Regions from separate parts of the Homo sapiens genome. Here all the other regions are linked to region 2. Evidence: promoter capture Hi-C in 16 types of primary human blood cells and fetal thymus (Javierre and others, 2016). All regions are on one chromosome and are shown on one strand. Each heading gives the region's core, a stretch centred on a gene start or on the middle of the fragment in contact. The rest is flanking DNA. Distances are from core to core; before and after follow the strand shown. Region 1 overlaps SMAD7 (SMAD family member 7). Region 2 holds the start of DYM (dymeclin). Region 3 overlaps CTIF (cap binding complex dependent translation initiation factor).

Region 1 (2,736 bases), core at 206-2,705, 540 kb after region 2:
ACACTGAGACTGTTTTCCTATTAGGAATATAGATGTTTTTGTCCCAAGCCACCCTCATTTTTATTTTTACCAGATAGGTTCCTCATGACCACGGCACTGATTTGAGAGCTGGGTGACAGGCACCCAGAGACCATCGCATAGGTGGTCCCAGAGTCTAGACACCTGGGTTCTAGCTCTGGCTGTGTCATCCCCTGGTACTCCAGCAGCAGGCTTTCTGGGTCCTGGTTTTCTCATCAGGATGACAAGGGGCTGGAGGAGCTGGCCTTCAAGGTTCCATCCAGTTGAAAGATCTGTAACTCCAGGACGTTGCTGAGGCTTTTTGAGGCCCTAAAAGCAGACTACCCAAGCTATTAAGGGTCCCTTTGCATCTGTGCTCTGCAGAGAAGAGGCTTTGTTGGCCAGGTGGGCACAGATGCTGGTGTACTGGACTCCTGATGGGCAGGGGCCTGGAGAGAAGCAGCACCCAGCGCTTCCTATGCTTAAAGAAAGGCAGGGTCCTGGTCAAAGGGCTGTAAGAGCCTGGGCAAGTCCAGGACTAGCCTCACCGCCTCCTTCTTTCTGTCTCGTCCTGAGAGATGAGCTGGTGACTGGGTGCAGTGGGGGGGCGGGTGTCTTCATTCTAGGAGTCACCAATGCCTGTCCCCACTAACCCTCTCTGCCAATGTGTTTTCTAGATTCCCAACTTCTTCTGGAGCCTGGGGATCGGTCACACTGGTGCGTGGTGGCATACTGGGAGGAGAAGACGAGAGTGGGGAGGCTCTACTGTGTCCAGGAGCCCTCTCTGGATATCTTCTATGATCTACCTCAGGGGAATGGCTTTTGCCTCGGACAGCTCAATTCGGACAACAAGAGTCAGCTGGTGCAGAAGGTGCGGAGCAAAATCGGCTGCGGCATCCAGCTGACGCGGGAGGTGGATGGTGTGTGGGTGTACAACCGCAGCAGTTACCCCATCTTCATCAAGTCCGCCACACTGGACAACCCGGACTCCAGGACGCTGTTGGTACACAAGGTGTTCCCCGGTTTCTCCATCAAGGCTTTCGACTACGAGAAGGCGTACAGCCTGCAGCGGCCCAATGACCACGAGTTTATGCAGCAGCCGTGGACGGGCTTTACCGTGCAGATCAGCTTTGTGAAGGGCTGGGGCCAGTGCTACACCCGCCAGTTCATCAGCAGCTGCCCGTGCTGGCTAGAGGTCATCTTCAACAGCCGGTAGCCGCGTGCGGAGGGGACAGAGCGTGAGCTGAGCAGGCCACACTTCAAACTACTTTGCTGCTAATATTTTCCTCCTGAGTGCTTGCTTTTCATGCAAACTCTTTGGTCGTTTTTTTTTTGTTTGTTGGTTGGTTTTCTTCTTCTCGTCCTCGTTTGTGTTCTGTTTTGTTTCGCTCTTTGAGAAATAGCTTATGAAAAGAATTGTTGGGGGTTTTTTTGGAAGAAGGGGCAGGTATGATCGGCAGGACACCCTGATAGGAAGAGGGGAAGCAGAAATCCAAGCACCACCAAACACAGTGTATGAAGGGGGGCGGTCATCATTTCACTTGTCAGGAGTGTGTGTGAGTGTGAGTGTGCGGCTGTGTGTGCACGCGTGTGCAGGAGCGGCAGATGGGGAGACAACGTGCTCTTTGTTTTGTGTCTCTTATGGATGTCCCCAGCAGAGAGGTTTGCAGTCCCAAGCGGTGTCTCTCCTGCCCCTTGGACACGCTCAGTGGGGCAGAGGCAGTACCTGGGCAAGCTGGCGGCTGGGGTCCCAGCAGCTGCCAGGAGCACGGCTCTGTCCCCAGCCTGGGAAAGCCCCTGCCCCTCCTCTCCCTCATCAAGGACACGGGCCTGTCCACAGGCTTCTGAGCAGCGAGCCTGCTAGTGGCCGAACCAGAACCAATTATTTTCATCCTTGTCTTATTCCCTTCCTGCCAGCCCCTGCCATTGTAGCGTCTTTCTTTTTTGGCCATCTGCTCCTGGATCTCCCTGAGATGGGCTTCCCAAGGGCTGCCGGGGCAGCCCCCTCACAGTATTGCTCACCCAGTGCCCTCTCCCCTCAGCCTCTCCCCTGCCTGCCCTGGTGACATCAGGTTTTTCCCGGACTTAGAAAACCAGCTCAGCACTGCCTGCTCCCATCCTGTGTGTTAAGCTCTGCTATTAGGCCAGCAAGCGGGGATGTCCCTGGGAGGGACATGCTTAGCAGTCCCCTTCCCTCCAAGAAGGATTTGGTCCGTCATAACCCAAGGTACCATCCTAGGCTGACACCTAACTCTTCTTTCATTTCTTCTACAACTCATACACTCGTATGATACTTCGACACTGTTCTTAGCTCAATGAGCATGTTTAGACTTTAACATAAGCTATTTTTCTAACTACAAAGGTTTAAATGAACAAGAGAAGCATTCTCATTGGAAATTTAGCATTGTAGTGCTTTGAGAGAGAAAGGACTCCTGAAAAAAAACCTGAGATTTATTAAAGAAAAAAATGTATTTTATGTTATATATAAATATATTATTACTTGTAAATATAAAGACGTTTTATAAGCATCATTATTTATGTATTGTGCAATGTGTATAAACAAGAAAAATAAAGAAAAGATGCACTTTGCTTTAATATAAATGCAAATAACAAATGCCAAATTAAAAAAGATAAACACAAGATTGGTGTTTTTTTCTATGGGTGTTATCACCTAGCTGAATGTTTTTCTAAAGGAGTTTATGTTCCATTAAACGATTTTTAAAATGTACACTTGATTTC
Region 2 (2,956 bases), core at 247-2,746:
TTTAGTTAGGTAGTTTGGGGTTTTTTTTTTTTTTTGAGACAGTGTCTCGTTCTGTTGCCCAGGGTAGAGTGCAATGGTGAGATTATGGCTCCCTGAAGCCTCAACCTCCCGGGCTCAAGCGATTTTCCCACATCAGCCTCCCGAGTAGCCGGGACCGAGGGTGTGCCAACCACTCCCAGCTAATTTTTGTATTTTTTGTTGAGACAGTGTATCGCTATGTTGCTCAGGCTGGTCCTTCCGAACTCCTGGGCTCAAGTGATCCTCCCACCTTAGCCTCCCAAAGTATTGGGATTACAGGCATAAGCCACAGGGCCCAGTCTACTTTGGGTTTTAATATGTTTTCCTGTCATAATTCTGCAAGCTCAGTGAATTTACTGGCAGTCTATGCTAGAAAAGAATACCTAATATTTGTATAGTACTTTACAGAGTACACTGGCACATATTGACTATATAATGGGAATAACGGTGCTATCTGTTCCATAGGGTCATTTTGCGAAATAATAGTGCATGGCAAATAGAAAATAATCCATAATGTGAATTGTTATTACTACAGTCATGTCAACATTTCCTGTAATGGCAGAATCATCATCATGCATATATTTTAGGTGAGGAAACTGGCTGAGAGAGGTGAAGTAATTGCTCAAAGACGTCAGTGTGGAAACCTCAGCTCATTTGACTTCAAATTCCATAGTTTTGGCACTATCTCATATTGCTACTCTTTCCCGTGGGACCTGTCCTTTCCGACAACTTTGCAGGCAGGGCTAGCCCTGCCAGCTGCCTCCATCAAAAATTATTTTGCTATTTCTCAATTCTCCAGAATCCCACACAATATTGCTTGACTTTGGGATGGTTATTCAGCTGCAATTAACAGAGGCCTTAATAAGGTTAAGCCGCCAGAACGAGCGGTGTAGCATGAGCGAGGACTCTAGCACCTGGCAGGTGAGGTTGACTCTAGCACCCGGCAGGTGAGGTTTTTGCGCTTCTCTCTCTCTCTCTTTTTTTTTTTTTGAGAAGAGTCGAGCTCTGTCGCAAGGCTGGAGTGCAGTGGCCCGATCTCGACTCACTGCAATCTCCGCCTCTCGGGTTCAAACGATTCTCCTGCCTCAGACAGCTACTTTTTGACTCACTGCAATCTCCGCCTCTCGGGTTCAAACGATTATCCTGTCTCAAACAGCTACTTTTTGTATTTTTAGTGGAGACGGGGTTTCACCATGCTGGCCAGGATGGTCTCGATCTCCTGACCTCGTGATCCGTCCACCTCGGCCTCCTAAAGTGCTGGGATTACAGGCGTGAGCCACCGCGCACGGCTGTTTTTGCGCTTCTCGATTTCGCCACGTGGCTTTGCGGTAGCCCAGGAGGTACTAGGAGGGCGGAGGCACGAATAACACCCAAAGGACTACAGTTTCCAGAAGCCCGCGCGCGCCGCGTGCCACGTGACCACCTGGCTGGCGCGCGCGCCTGGGGGTCTGGTCCCTAGCCGCGTTCTCGGTCGCTTCCCTCTTCTCTCGCCGCCTCCTGGCCTCCGCACCGACGCGGCCCGGGCTGGAGCCGAGCCGGGGCCGAGCTGCAGGCCGGACCGGAGCCGGATCTGTACCCGCTGAGACGTGGAAACATGGAGGCCTGAGCCGGTGTGCGCCACCTGGGCTGCGGCGGCGACAGCGACTTCTCCTGACCCCTCTGCCACCCTCCCATCCGTCCGCGGGTCCGTGGAGCTGGAGCAGATCCCCCAGCCGGCTGAGACAGGTGGGCTGTAGCGCCGCCCCCCTCAGCGCGGCCGGGCCCGAAAGCCTGGCTGTCCCCGGCCTCCTGTCAGAGGGGGTCAGGGGCCACCCTCCGCAACCCGGCCAGCGCCCCGGGGCGGCGGCGAAGGGACCCTCCCTTCCCTGCCCGCGGGCGCCTGGGCCACCCGGAGGGGCTGTGCTGACAGCGGACGGACCTCTGTCCGAGTCCGCTGTTGGGAGTTGGGGGATACCGAAGGCCAAGTCGGTGCTTCCGGAGATGGGGCGGTGTTGGTCTGACAAATGGGCGTGTGATGGGCAGGGTGAGCAATAGCTGTTGGGTTTTTCTTTCTTCTTTTTACATTCATAGTTTATCGAGGTATAACTAACATATCAGAAAATTAACCCTTTAAAAGTACAACTCAGTGGTTTTTAGTATATTCACAGGGTTGAGCAGCCATCACCACCCTTAACTCCAGAGCATTTTTAATCACCGCCCCCCCCGCCCCAAAGAAGCTCGTACCCATTAGCAGTCACTCCTCCTTCTCTCCCCTACACTATTGATCTACTTTCAGTCGCCGTGGATTTGCCTGAGCAATTGTGTTTTGACTGAAAAGTGAAAGGGTGGGTGTTTGTGAACTGGGGGCAGTAGTGGGGTTTGAGGGTATTGGTGTGGTAAAGCTGATTGGATAAAGCTGTTCTCTACTGAACAGGGGTAGAGAAGTGATGGGATGATTGTAATCGGCCAGCAAAGCGGGTACCCAGGATAGACTGATTAGGGGGCACAGATGGAGTGAGTTCCTTGAAAGAGGAGAGGGGAAGTTGGAGAGAGGGGTGTGTAGAGCAAGGGTGATGTGCTGAAGGATGAAAACCTGGAGGGTGGAGGCCGTGGAGAGGAATGTAGCGTCCACCAGAGGAACTCAGGTGCTTAGGCTGATGAGTTGAGGGCTCAAGAGAAGAACGAGGTGGAAGGGAAGAGAATCTATAGGAATGGGTGAATGGTTGTTGCAGAGGATGAAATTTATGAATATATGGATTTCTGGAGTGATTATCCTGCTTTGAAGTTTTATTTTAGATAATCCTCTCAGCAACTTGGAGATAGACCGGACAAGTATGAATATTCCCATTCTGTAAATGAAGAACTAGTCTTTTAGAGGTTAGGTGTCTGCCTTAAGCTCATAAACTGAGTACATAGGGCAAAATGAGTTGGAATAATTGATGAAACTATCAGTCGCAAG
Region 3 (2,752 bases), core at 1-2,500, 620 kb after region 2:
AAATGAAGTGTTGGAGAAGGCTGTAAAGGTGAACACAGTGCCTAAGTGAAGGCTCCTACACTAAACTCTGTGTTGGCCCCGAGGGAGACAAAGGTTGTGCAGTAATGCATATACTTTGAGCCCACCCAAGTGTGCACAGCCACAGCCTCAAGCACAGACATGCTGTCTGTGTTGTGCTTTCTATGAAGTGTGACTATAAAGGGGACTCGTTTCAGGGGGGCGGACAAAAATCAATCTATATATTTCCTCAGATTTTCTCCAGTATCTGCCTGTGCAAGGACCCAGGTGAGACATCTTCCAGGCGGCCACTGCACCGAGAGGCTCACGTGAGGCGTGGGCAGCCCAGCACGCTCAACTCTAGGAGGGCACTGGCTTGGGAAGGCAGCGCACCTGCCTTCTGATAGGCATTTCGCCTGGGATGAAAGTTCAGTGTAGGCTCCAGCTCCTATGTGAGTCTACCCACAAGCTGACGGGCTGTTGATGTGCCGGGGTGTTGGGAGAAAAGCAGGAAGAAAAAGCAGGTGCTTTGTTGCTGTCATTTCTGGATTTTAATTAATGCCAAGACTACACACTTGGAGAAGTGAGAACTCTTCCTACTTTAGGGACACTGATAGGGAGCAAGTTTGGGGGAAAGTAGAAAAAAAAAAATCAGTTCTTCTATTTTCCAAGGTAAAATAAAACCCCAGGGAAGACGGACTTTGTTTTTAAAAGTCTCTCTTCCTCAGTGTGCCCCCGTTCTGGCATTGGACAGCAAAACCAAATCAGAGTTCCAGAGACAGCCCCACTCCCTTCCCACCAGGGAGGGTGTGGGTGTGGGGGATTCTTAGCCTCGCAGTCACCCAGTTGCCCAGGGCTGCTGGGACAGGTTGGTGGGGGGCAGGGGCTCAGGGCATCTGGGAGCAGGGAGAGGGATGCATCCAGTGGGTAGTTCCCAGCCCTGTGTTTGTACTGGATCCACCTAGGAGAGAAACAGATCCAGCCCTCACTCTTTGATTTTAGGGCTATGTAGGGCTGTGGGGGCCTAGGAATCTGTATAGTAAGATCTCTGGGTGTTTCTGGTGCAGTCAGAGTGGGCACCACTGAGAAAAATGTCTCTTCAGGTGGATGGGAGTGGCAGAGGCTCCATAAATGACTGAGACCCTCTTCTTAGCTCTAATCGCCTTTGTTCAGTTTGGGCTGGGCTCACCCAGGCTCAGGTGCCCCTAGGCCCATAGCTTCCACCCCTGCCTTCAGGTGCTTCCCCCAGCCCAGACCTCAGCCCTCCCCAGCTCCCAGGCCACTCCTCCTCCTCTGAGTTCCTGCAGCACTGAGAATTTGAACCCCGGATGTGACATGAACAGTGGTCTCGGTGTCCTCTGAGTGGGGATGTGTGCCAGGCCCCTGCTAAATGCTTGATGGGCCTTAGACAGCCCCCTTCTCGCCCCCACCCTGTGAGGCAGGCACCAGTGCTCCCTTGCTCTAGGGAGGGGCTCTCGTGAGCACAGGGATGAGGATTTGGATCCGAGACCATGAGGCTGTTGTTCCTCCCTTTACCAATGTGTGTATGGGAGGCCCCGGGAAAGGAGACCCCCCAGCCCCTGGGCATTGGATGGGAGCCAGGAGGAGAAAGATGAGGTCCCCAGTCCTTGGCAGCTCGTAACCTCTGGACCTCACTCCTTTGCCCCCAGGCCAGGCAGTGCAGGCTTTGCTGTCAAACCCTGGCTGCCTCAGTTTCCTGCCCTTCCCCGCTCCTTATGCGATGGGAAGGGACAAACAGCCCAAATGTGGGCAGGGATGCAGGACTAGTAGCTGACAATTTCCCAGGGTGTCCCACTGGGCCCCGGCGCCCTCTCAGCAGGCTGATGGCAGGTGATGTGGACTAAGCAGGGGACACACTCACAGATGGCATCTATGTGCGGTGCCCAGGAGGAAACCAGAGGCACAGCTTGGGTGGCAGCAGAGCCAGCACCAGAACTCAGATTTCCTGACTCCTAGCTGGTTGTTCCTGCACCAGGCAAAGAGGAGAGGAGTGGAGGAGGAAGGCCTGGCTAATCCTTACCTGGGCATGACCAACGGCAGTCTCCTGGGGCTTCCCACCCTGCTTCCTTGCCCCTCTAGGGGAATGGCAGGTGCTGGCAGTCCAGGGGGACCTGGTGGGATGTTGGGACCTGGAGGGCTGAAGTGATGGGGTTGGTTGGGGATCTCACTCACTGGTGCCTCATAATCGCCCAGGCCTTTGGAGTTGAGGTGTGAGAAGCTGGAGGGCCTGCCCCATACGCATCTTAGGGGGCAGCAGGGTGGTGGAGGGGTCCCCTAGATGCCAGTGGTGACCCCACTGTCCTCCAGGCAGAGCAAGCAGGGCCCACACAGCCCTTAGAATCAGGCCTTGAAAAAGACCAGGCTGAGCATGGGGACCCTGAAGGGCAGCCCAGGGCCTCTCTGGGGGCTGCTGGCTGTGCTCAAGAGGGGGCACCTGATGGGACCACGTCAGCTCCAGGAGAAGCACAGAATATACTTTTTAACTCTGACTTTGTTGCTGGGATCTTGAATGCTCCAGAGCACAGTGGGAGCTGCCTCTTTAGAGAAGCAGCTGCTGGGGGAGGAGGGAGGTGGGGCCTGGAGGTGGGTGGGCTCCAAGGCAGTGGCTCCTAGGGCGGGGGTATGCATTTGTGCCTTCCTGCAGCAAATGTTCATGGGCTAGAGGGCCTGGGGCCATGGGGACCAAACAGCCCGGTGCCTGTCCCCAGGCCACCTACAGTGGGGGGCAGAGGGG

The links. The method cuts DNA at HindIII sites, captures the fragments that hold promoters and counts their contacts. A CHiCAGO score of 5 or more calls a contact.
Region 1: a fragment that was not itself captured here is called in contact with the fragment with the promoter of DYM in region 2 in 1 of 17 cell types (neutrophils); the score reaches 6.4 in neutrophils.
Region 3: a contact is called between a fragment that was not itself captured here and the fragment with the promoter of DYM in region 2, in 1 of 17 cell types (naive CD8 T cells). The highest score is 6.2, in naive CD8 T cells.

What each region holds. Positions count from the first base shown.
Region 1 is chr18:48,919,849-48,922,584 of GRCh38, reverse strand. It overlaps SMAD7 (SMAD family member 7), which reads left to right. Exons shown (of 4, transcript NM_005904.4): 4 at 675-2,732. The coding sequence ends at 1,213. Among named protein-coding and RNA genes, the nearest start is that of SMAD7, 30 kb to the left of the region's middle. The HindIII fragment of the contact is 3,093 bases long and covers 1-2,736 here.
Region 2 is chr18:49,459,185-49,462,140 of GRCh38, reverse strand. DYM (dymeclin) reads left to right here and starts at 1,496. Exons shown (of 18, transcript NM_001353214.3): 1 at 1,496-1,743. RefSeq lists a silencer at 1,518-2,097. The HindIII fragment of the contact is 8,649 bases long and covers 1-2,956 here.
Region 3 is chr18:48,835,965-48,838,716 of GRCh38, reverse strand. The region is part of intron 10 of CTIF (cap binding complex dependent translation initiation factor); the gene reads right to left. The region is part of intron 2 of CTIF-AS1 (CTIF antisense RNA 1); the gene reads left to right. Among named protein-coding and RNA genes, the nearest start is that of CTIF-AS1, 4.5 kb to the left of the region's middle. RefSeq lists enhancers at 1-67, 68-846, 1,117-2,016, 2,017-2,752. The HindIII fragment of the contact is 7,442 bases long and covers 1-2,752 here.